Regions from separate parts of the Homo sapiens genome. Here region 2 is linked to region 1. Evidence: promoter capture Hi-C in 16 types of primary human blood cells and fetal thymus (Javierre and others, 2016). All regions are on one chromosome and are shown on one strand. The core of a region is centred on a gene start or on the middle of the fragment in contact, and the rest is flanking DNA. Distances in the headings are between cores, read along the strand shown.

What was found. Contacts are between HindIII fragments. The CHiCAGO score rates a contact against its expected background, and 5 or more counts as called.
Region 2: a fragment that was not itself captured here is called in contact with the fragment with the promoter of HUS1 in region 1 in 2 of 17 cell types (non-activated CD4 T cells and naive B cells); the score reaches 7.1 in non-activated CD4 T cells.

What each region holds. Positions count from the first base shown.
Region 1 is chr7:47,977,318-47,982,688 of GRCh38, forward strand. HUS1 (HUS1 checkpoint clamp component) reads right to left here and starts at 2,298. Exons shown (of 8, transcript NM_004507.4): 1 at 2,151-2,298; 2 at 1,372-1,499; 3 at 1,100-1,276. The coding sequence starts at 2,202. It overlaps LOC105375270 (a long non-coding RNA gene), which reads left to right and starts at 5,125. Exons shown (of 3, transcript XR_927251.3): 1 at 5,125-5,371. RefSeq lists silencers at 1,819-1,868, 1,949-2,008 and an enhancer at 2,079-2,368. The HindIII fragment of the contact is 1,329 bases long and covers 1,475-2,803 here.
Region 2 is chr7:51,157,130-51,162,500 of GRCh38, forward strand. The region is part of intron 5 of COBL (cordon-bleu WH2 repeat protein); the gene reads right to left. Among named protein-coding and RNA genes, the nearest start is that of COBL, 160 kb to the right of the region's middle. RefSeq lists an enhancer at 3,903-4,197. The HindIII fragment of the contact is 1,092 bases long and covers 2,686-3,777 here.

The DNA of each region.
Region 1 (5,371 bases), core at 1,048-3,547:
AAGCCTGCTATGTTGACGCAACCAAGAGAAGGCCATTCTTTGGGCATAGGACACTCAGAGTGCTGCAGTTTCTAACAGTTAAAAGGCAAACTATATTTATTTCTAGGGGCTCCTATGAGACTCACAGACCAAAATATCTTGCACTTTTGGACAAAAAGTATTATACGTTACTATCTTGCTTTTCCTTAAGCAATAGAAAAAACATACCAAACTTATACTGTGACATGAAATGCCCTAATTAGCTCTGAGAACTGCCTGACTGCAAAGAGTTGAGAGTTATGAAGAAAAGCTGGGCTGGGCGCCGTGGCTCATGCCTACAATCGCAGCACTTTGGGAGGCCGAGGTAGGTGGATCACTTGACGTCAGGAGTTCGAGACCAGCCTGGCCAATATGGTGATACCCCGACTCTACTAAAAAAATACAAAAATTAGCTGGGTGTGGTGGTGGGTGCCTGTAATTCCAGCTACTCAGGAGGCTGAGGCATGAGAATCGCTTGAACCCGGGAGATGGAGGTTGCAGTGAGCCGAGATCGCGCCACTGCACTCCAGCCTGGGTGATAGAGAGACTCCGTCTCAAAAAAAAGGAAATACGAACCTCATTCTATGAGTAGGAAGAGCAACTCTGGATTGTATGTATGCGCATGAGTTTGTGTATTTGTGTGTTTGGAGGACAGCTGTGCACTAAATTCATCTGGCAGTAGCATATAAAACATACGTGTACTGAAGAACGAGGGGCCATTTAAAGGTTATTATAGCAGATGAGGCAGGGTGGGAGTGGGGAGAAAACATGTCAAAGGTGAAAATGGATAGAGAAACCATGATTTCTAGACAAGGTGACAATACCACTACAAGAAACAGAGAGGCTGGAAGTTTCACGGCTTGGAAAAAGCAGCATTCTAGCTGAATGCATATGATAACAACACAATTTTAAAATGAGGAGGAACTGACTCTAATGCAAAATATAGTTATGGACCAGATCTTTAAATTTAAATAAACCAAACAGCTTTCAACAGTATTTATTGTTAAAAAGGCTAGGCTAACTATGTCTATTCCTTCGAGGCCAAGACTTCTGTGTTAGAAACCCTGACTCTCCTACTCACCAGCTCCACGGAGACCGTGAGGCAGGGAAAGTGTTTATTAGTCAGTTTGATTTTCAAAGCCCTGGCATTCTGGGCAGTCTTCAAGGCTCGAGATAAGTTTTCCGATGTTAGCTCTAAATAAATCTCATTGTTTTCTGCAGAGACACCCTCCATTTGAAATTCGTTGAAGAAGTTCTCCTAAGGGAAAAAAAATGAGGGATGAGGGAGGGTATATGTGATCTTTCCAGTGACAATCTGCAGAGTGTGCAGGCCTCTCAGAAGCTTTTGCTCACCTGTTCCAGCTCACACCACATGCTCACTCCTCCATTAGCCAGCTTGTCACAAAGGATGAAGTTAAGCTTATCAGGGCTGATGCGGAGGGTGCAGGTTTTGGCAAGCTTGGCTATCATGTTACTGATTCCTAAAGCAGGGGTTAAAATAAGGAATTACTAAAATGCACATTATGTATCCTAGAGACCAACTTATTTTGCAGAATTTCTTGTTCATCAACTTCTCGGTGGAAAAATAACCACTTAACGTTGGTATCACACTGGAAAGTACTTTAATACCCCTGATGTCACGCAATTCTCCCAACAAACTAGGGGAGATGTACAGCACACATCATCAGTGTTCAAATAAGAAAACAGGCACCTACCAGTCATTCATTCATTCAACATGGATTTATTGACTACTAGGTACTGCAATACACAGTTAAATGCAAGGTTAGGCACTGTCAGGGTGGAGGGACGAATGGGGCCTTGAAGGTATGTCAATGCCTGATAAAGCCGTCTATGGGAGCAGTGGCCGCTTTTTTTTAAAGCCACGTGATCGGAATCAAGTTTCAGAAACGTCCCTTGAAAGCCGCCTTCATCCCCACAAGTGCCCTCCGACCCGCCCCGCGCCCTCCCGGCCCCACCCTCCCGCGGCCTACACCAGCACCCCCATCCCGGCCCCATCCTCCCGCGGCCCCTTCCGGCGCCCATCCCCGTTCTGATCCTCCTGCGCGGTCCCCACCGCGCGCTCACTGCTTCCTTCCGTTCCTCCCTCGCTCCTCTCCGGCCTCCCTGCTCACGTGTGAAGTGGTTCAGACAGGCCCCGTCCACGATCTTGGCCCGAAACTTCATGGCCGCGGATGGCGCAGCCGCGGCGGGCCTCTGTGGGTAACAGAAAAGCGTCGCGCCCTGAGTGTCCCCGCCCGGAAACACGGCAGCGCGAACAGTGGTTCCGCCCGGCTCGGGCTACGCGACTCTTACCAGGGTTATCTCCGGGCCACGCCCCGGAGGAGGTGGGGCTAGGGGGTCACGCCCTAGAGGAGGTGGGGTCACGGGTCAAGGATCACAGGTCACGCCCCGGGGGAGGTGGGGGTCCCAGTCTCCGGGTATGCCTCCGCGCTGCCGGGTAATGGTGGGATCTACTTTTAGTGAGGCGGAGGCTTCAAGCCCCAGATTCGGGGAGGTTGTTCTGAGAATTCACGTTTTGAAAGAATTTTGTGACACCTATTTCAAGTGTTATTTTAAAATATCCAAATAAAATTAATCGTTTATAAAGGTTAAACAATATTATCTTAAATATACCTAAGGTAGAGCAGCTTTAAACCCTCCAGCCTCAGATGACGGTACTGGTACTTTGGTATTGAAGCATCTTGGTGGATTAAGGTTCTGAAAATTGTTTCAAATGACTTCTAAAAAAATTGAACATATTACTGGCTAGTTGGTAAAGTCGGGAAGCTTAAAGAACACTGACGTTAAGTGATAATTCTGCAGTTTGCCTCAAGACGAACTTTATTACATCCGATAAAATTCTTATTAGCATAAATAATGTCATTAGGATTTTTTTTAAAGGAAAAATTTTAAAGGGGGAAATGAAGCAACAATTGTATCTAATTTGGTTTTTCAAAGACTAAAGATTATCTGTGTTAACAATTGTTATTTTTAATGTCCTTTGCAAATAGACTAGAACCTTGTCTTTAACTTGACACATAGAATCAAGATAATGATAATGCAGATGATGATGATGATGATTTTGAGACGGAGTCTGGCTCTGTCGCCCTGGCTGGAGTGCAATGGCGTGATCTTGGCCCACTGCAACCTCCACCTCCCGGGTTCGAGGGATTCTCCTGCCTCAGCTTCCCAAGTAGTTGGGATTACAGGCACAAGCTACCATGCCCGGCTAATTTTTGTATTATTAGTAGAGACGGGGTTTCGCCATGTTGGCCAGGCTGGTCTCGAACTCCTGACCTCAGGTGATCTGCCCACCTCGGCCTCCCAAAGTGCTGGGATTATAGGCGTGAGCCACCGCGCCAGGCCCAGATAATTTTCAAAGACACATGCACACATATGTTTATTGTGGCACTATTCACAATAGCAAAGACTTGGAACCATCCCAAATGTCCATCAATAATAGACTGGATAAGGAAAATGTGGCACATATACACCATGGAATACTATGCAGCCATAAAAAAGGATGAGTTCATGTCCTTTGCAGGGACATGGATGAAGCTGGAAACCATCATTCTCAGCAAAATATCACAAGGACAGAAAACCAAACACCGCATGTTCTCACTCATAAGTGGGAGTTGAACAATGAGAACACATGGACACAGGGAGGGGAATATCACACACTGGGGCCTGTTGGGGGGTGGAGGCCTGGGGGAGGGATAGCGTTAGGAGAAATACCTAATGTAAATGATGAGTTGATGGGTGCAGCACACCAACATGGCACATGCATACCTATGTAACAAATCTGCACGTTGTGCACATGTACCCTAGAACTTAAAGTGTAATAATAATAAAAAGGTGCAAAATACAAAAATTGCAGTTTTTGCCTATTTTAAGACTATAACATGAAGCAAAATTCTAATCTTCATTGTCATATGCGAGTGTTTGCCAAACCAAACTTAATAGATCACTTTCAAAGTTATGCCAACAGGCAGGGCAGGATGGCTCTCTCCTGTAATCCCAGCATTCTGGGAGGCCGAGGCGGGTGGATCATCTGAGGTCAGGAGTCTGAGATCAGCCTGGCCAACATGATGAAACCCCGTCTCTACTAAAAATACAAAAATTAGCCCGGCGTGATAGCTTGTGCCTGTAATCCCAACTACTCAGGAATCTGAGGCAGGAGAATCACTTGAACCCAGGAGGCGGAGATTTCAGTGAACAGAGGTCTGCCACTGCACTCCAGCCTGGGCGACAGAGCGAGACTCCGTCTCAAAAAAAAAAAAAAATGTTGGCATAACTCTTTTTTTTTTTGGAGACGGAATCTCGCTCTGTCGCCCAGGCTGGAGTGCAGTGGCGCAATCTCGGCTCACTGCAAGTTCCGCCTCCCGGGTTCACGCCATTCTCCTACCTCAGCCTCCCGAGTAGCTGGGACTACAGGCGCCCGCCACCACGCCCGGCTAATTTTTTGTATTTTTAGTAGAGACGGGGTTTCACCGTGTTAGCCAGGATGGTCTCGATCTCCTGACCTCGTGATCCGCCCGCCTCGGCCTCCCAAAGTGCTGGGATTACAAGCGTGAGCCACTGAGCCCGGCCATGCCAACATTTTTTATTTGCCCCATATGATCTGCAGGAAAAAGCCTGTTTTTTAATTTCCTCATGAATGAGTTTTGAAGAGTTGAGCATCACATTAAATAAAGTGGCTGCTAGTAGATAAATGAATATAATTAAAGAATGTATCTAAATAAACTTTGTAAACAATGTTTTGTAACATCTTGATCTTTAGTGTAAATTGCTTAATTTTATGTCATAAAAACTGATAAAGCAATTTTTTAAACTTCCTAAGAAGATGTGATATGATACATTCTGCATGGACAAAAGCCCAAATAATATAGGAATTTGACTCAAGAAATAGAAAATAAAGCTGCAATTATCTTTTCTTGGAAGAAGAAAGGAATCTTTTATGTGCTCTTGCAATTTTCTTAAACAGGTTTAGCAAATTAATTCATTAACTTCAGAATTGACAATTAAGTATATTGACACTACTTCTCTACTTTCCAAATGATTTTGAGGCAAGGAATGTGATCTCTAGAGATTTCTAGAAGCCCCATGTACCACTGAGTTTTCTAATGCAATGTATATTCATGTTCTCATCTAGCTACAGTAAATTGCCTTCTGACTTAAGAACTGCCAAATGTCAGGGATTAGTAATTCAGTCACACAATGATTTGGGAAACAGTGTTCACGCTGTTCATTAAGTTTGTTTAGTGGGGAGGTAAATGCCTTAATCTTGTCTTAGAAACTGAAATAAACAGTGGTGCAAATAAAATGTCATTCAGGATGCATATAGTTGGAAGTA
Region 2 (5,371 bases), core at 1,982-4,481, 3.2 Mb after region 1:
AAAGGCCGAGGCAGGCGGATCACTTAAGGTCAGGAGTTCAAAACCAGCCTGGCCAACATGGTGAAACCCCATCTCTACTAAAAATACAAAAAAATTAGCCAGGCGTGGTGGTGTGGGCCTGTAATCCCAGCTACCTGGGAGGCTGAGGCAGGAGAACTGCTTAAACCCAGGAGGCAGAGGTTGCAGTGAGTCAAGATCATGCCACTGCACTCCAGCCTGGGCAACACAGCAAGACTCCGCCTCAAAAAAAATAAACAAGGCCCCTGGCAATGCCAGAGAATTTGGAGTTTCAGTAGCACCGGCAAGGGGTTCCTTGGTGTCTTCTGAGGGCAGGGGGTTGGCCTGGCTCCTCTGTGTGTCTCCAGTGCCCCCTGGTCTGCTGATGGGACAGACTCAAAGTGTGCCCAGGGCAAGTGGTTGGAGAGGCGAGTGTCTATGTGGGGAGGGATTTTAGTGGAGGCACTCTGCTCTCTTCTCCCTTTTCTTTTCTCCTTCTTTCTTTCCTTATTTTTTCCCCCTCAATATTCATTGTTCTTATTCTCTAAGTCAAAATTCAGACTTTGGAAAATAAATAATCACTTCAGGAAGTCTATTTATTGTACTATATGGTGACTATAACTACTAAGAATGTATTATATACTTGAAAATTACTAAAACGGTAGACTTTAAATGTTACCACAAAAATATAAGTATGTGAGGTCATGGATATGGTAATTAGCTTGATTTAGCTGTTGCACAATGCACTGATATATAATTTTTATTTGTCAATTGAAATAAACAAAATACAGACAATCATCACACACATTGTTAAAACATACAAAATATGCTCTGTGTTGTTAATGGACAGACAGCCTTTCACTATACTTCTTAAAATATAAAACTTTTAAAAGGGTTGCTGCCCCTGGGGAAGGAAGAAGAGAGCCAGTTGTTGTGTTAGAGAGGCAGTGTCATCTGTGTCTGCTGTGTTTCTTAGTCGTTAACAAAAAGACAATGCAGCAAATGTAGCTAAACACACATTAACATTTGTTAATGGTGGATGATTGATATGGGACTGTTTATTTATTATTCTTTTTATTTTACTATTTCTATGTATTTTCTATTTGTTTATTTTATTTATTTTACTCTGTAATCTACTATGAATTGGTACCATGCAAAATTTCAAAAAGGAGAAGAGACCCTCAAGGTGCAGTTTATGTTGAAAGAATGGAGAAGAATGGACCCAAACCTACCGGATGGCGGAAGGGCAGGGTCGGGGAGGAGCCTCCTCACTCACACGCGTCCACAGCCTGTAACCATCGCTCAACAGGAAGAAAAGGGAAGGACTATAGGTCCGCCTGGGACATATTTAAGATGCAGAAATCAAGAAAATGTGACAACCCTGGAAGAGGAAGCAAAGGTGGTGCTAGCTGAGGAGACAACAAGGGAGCAGTGGGGATTTAAGAAGATCCCAGTCTCCAGGGTAGAGGACGCATCCCTAGGGGCCCAGACCCTGGGGCAGGTGCCACTAGGAACAGAGCACGGTGGGAGGCTGGGAAAGTGTCCGCCCCTGCCCTTTTCCAGGGAGGAGCTGGAAAAGAATGCAGGCAAAAGTCGGGGAGGAAACACTCATTCCTAATGAAATGAAATCTGTAACATCAAATAAAAACAGGAGATGAGCGCGATGCTGGGACAAGCACACTGGCCTGAGCCAGGGGTGTCCATAGGGCGGGGGACAGGGAAAGCGAGGCACGGGGTGGGAGACAGGGAAGGCGTGGGGGACAGGGAAGGCACAGCGCCGGGGACAGGGAAGGCACAGCGCGGGGGTGCAGGGGCTGTGTGGGCAGGGAGGCGAGCTGAGAAACAGCAGCCCCAAGGGCCGACCCTGGGACTGCCAGTGTGTGGGACACCCTGTCTATAGTCCACTTCCTTTTTTTAAGAACCTGGATCAAGACACACGAAGAGCTGGCCAGGAGCTTGGAGGAGGGCAGCGGGGGCGGCGTTGCAGGCTCTCTGCAGCCCCCGGCCGCGCGCACCTGGCGGCCGCGCGCGCTGCGCTCTGGATGCCGCGTGAAACCGCAGGGCGCAAAGCAGGGAGGTGGGGAGGAGGCTTTGGAGACCACAGGTGCTGGGAAGTGGAGCCGCCAGGAGGCCTGGGCCAGGTGACAAGGCCAGGCTGTGTGAAGTGGTGAGATCCTAGATGTATCTTGAAGGCGACAGACGCTATGAGGGTTGCAGGTGGAGTGGGAGAGCAAAGGGGGCAAAGAGGACCCCAGGGTTCTGGCCCGAGGCACTGTGATGGCGGAGATGTCATCTCCTAGACAGGAAAGGATACCGAGGGACAGAGAGCTCTGCTTCTCACCTTCTCTGGTCTCTGAAGCAACTTAAATCCATGTGCAGGCAAGTGAGATTCTTGTTTTATACTTGTCTGACAAAGAGCAGGGGAAGGCCAGAAAGGAAACATAGACAGTGGAAATAATAGTCATGTTTTAGGGGAACATACGGAAAACCAGTATTTGAAAGGGACGTTTTCTACCTCAGTATCCTTACAAACATCACATTTTCAGCCAAGTGGTGAAAAATCTACATTTATTTTTTTCCCTCCGAGAACTGGTACTGGCATTAGGCCCTGTTTATCAACTCTTCAGGATCTATGTGTATACTACTCCCATTGTAAGAATCGAACACTCTGGGAAAAAAATTCATCAAAGCTTTAAAACCAAAACCCTCCTCTGATGGGTTCCAGGTTTGCATTAGAGATCATATGATAAGAATATTTTTAAAACTATTTTTTTGTTGTTGTTTTGAGACAGTTTCACTATTGTTGCCCAGGCTGGAGTGCAATGGCACGATCTCAGCTCACTACAACCTCCGCCTCCCGAGTTCAAGTGATTCTCCTGCCTCAGCCTCCTGAGTAGCTGGGACTACAGACACCTGCCACCACGTCCAGCTAATTTTGTATTTTTAGTACAGATGGGGTTTTGCCATATTGGTCAGGCTGGTCTCAAACTCCTGACCTCAGGTGATCCACCCACCTCGGCCTCCCAAAGTGCTGGGATTACAGGCATGAGCCACCATGTCTGGCCTATTTTTAATGGTCAAATAGGTATGGAAAGAACCTTAGAATGATTTTTCTAGATTACACATTAAGGTCTATTTACTTTCCAATAGTTGATAGGAGTTTTATATACACAAGGCTCTGAATCAGAAATGGAGAGTTGAGTGGCCATAATAACATATTGTTATTTGTTGTTGATGACACAGTCATCAAGGGAAACAATGCAGTAATGCCATAAAGTTGTCATATCCTTTGATTCACGAATACATTTGCAGGTGTCTTTCATAAAGAAAACCTCCCAAATGAAAAAAGGCTTTTGGGATAAAGTGACTTTCACATTACTTATACCAGAATAAAAGAAGCAATGAGCAACAGGGCCGAGCCAACCTTCATCGAGTGCTAGCTGTGAGCTCCTTCCTGTGCTTGGCACTCATTTAATCCTCATAAGAATGCTGGGTGCTGGTGATTATGAGCTCACGGTACACACGGGAAGACAAGGCTCTAAGAGGTCACAAACTGTATGTGAATAATTCAGAATCCAAATTCAAGCAAACAAAAACAAAAGCCACGCTTTTCCCTTTACACAGAAGATCATACAACCTTTAAAAGAACTATGCAGATACTGAGAAAGGCTCAGGAGAACAAGGAACAAGAAACTCTGTTAGACTTGTAGGCACTGGACATGATTCTCCTACTCTACTCTTAAAACCTGCCATATGCAATTTATTTTGTTTTGAATATAAAGCTTTTTTTTTTTTGAGATGGAGTCTCACTCTGTCGCCCAGGCTGGAGTGCAGTGGCGCAATCGAGGCTCACTGCAACCTCTGCCTTATAAAGCATTTTCTAAAGGTACAAGCTAAATTTTAAAAATATCTCTACACAACTGATGTATAACAAAAATTAGTTCTACCTCATAAACACGTGGCTCAGCCCTCGGAACACATTTTCCTGTTCTCAACTGATGAACACTCCAAAAACAGAACAGATTTGAGCTTTTCCAGGCCCAGAAAAGCTCGCGAGGGGATTTGCTGTGTGTGTGACAACACTGCCACCCTGTGGCAGCACAGCTCCACACATGCTTTGGGCCGCATTTGCAAGTTCTCTGTAATCCCCCTGGAGACCCGGATCAGCTGGGTGGAAATGCAGGCTCTCTGTAAGCATAGGACTCAGGGCAGCTGAAATTATGGAGTTTCCTTTAAAATGTAGCTTTTAATAACTTTTTCTGAAAATTTTATTTTACTGGTGGGCTTCCCTGTAAATGCCTGCCTCCAATACTGCAGAGGCTTCCATCAGAAACAACGCCACTCAACACGAATTCTGGAAACTTTTTTAGGGCTTTTGCTATGGAAATCACTTCAAATGTAAGCTCCGTCCATCTGTGAAACACTATAATGACACTATTTCTGTCACTGCCTGAACAGGGCAAATGGACAAAATGTCTCCAGACAGGTTTATTTTGTTGTTTGCTTGTTTTATAAGGCAGTGATTTTTAACTCTTTTACCAGAAGAACTTTAACTTTATGGTATCAAGAAATGCAGAGATATCTGATGAAGCATGTAGTAATACCTTTAGATTGGTCAAATTTATAGAATTTGGATTTTTTAAAAAACCAAGAAACCAAGAAGCAGGGCCCATAAAAGGCCAGTTACTTTCAAAAGTTCATTCTTCAGAGAAAGGCCTGCTAATGACTGGTCTGTTGTCCTGGTGAATAACAGAACCAGGATTAGAACCCACGTCACTTTACTCCTACATCAGAACATTTGCACTTTATCAGACTGATATAATAATTTCTTTTCCATTTTTGTGTGCTGAATTGCAAATTAACTCAGGTACCTTGTCTCATCCGTTAGCACAGTTTATCACTGCTGTTTGTGTGACTTAGGAAACAGAGACCCGAGAGCTAACTCACACCTTATCATTAACCGGCATCCACAACTGACTATGTGACCTCCCCGTGTCTTGGAGTCCAGATGTGTGGGATGACGTTAACTGCAGTGTAATCTGTTCCATGCTTTCACAGCTACACAGGCTGAGTTTGAGGAAAATCAATACTGACCATGTCCCCACTAAGCCAGAGTCCCCCGCAGGTGTCCAGTGCAGCCCAGTTTACAGCCTGAGGCACACTTTCTTTCACAGATACAGAAAGGAGTGTTTTCTGGAAAATGTAAAATTCCAGGAAAACTACTTAAAGTTAGTTGAAAGATGAGAATATTTGCTATGATTCAAGCGCCCTTTGATTAAGACAGTGAAGATATATCTTGGAACAGAGTAAACTTCAGTTTCTAAGAAATTCACTAACTTTTCCAGAGAAGATCAAATTTCTTTGACCATCTACA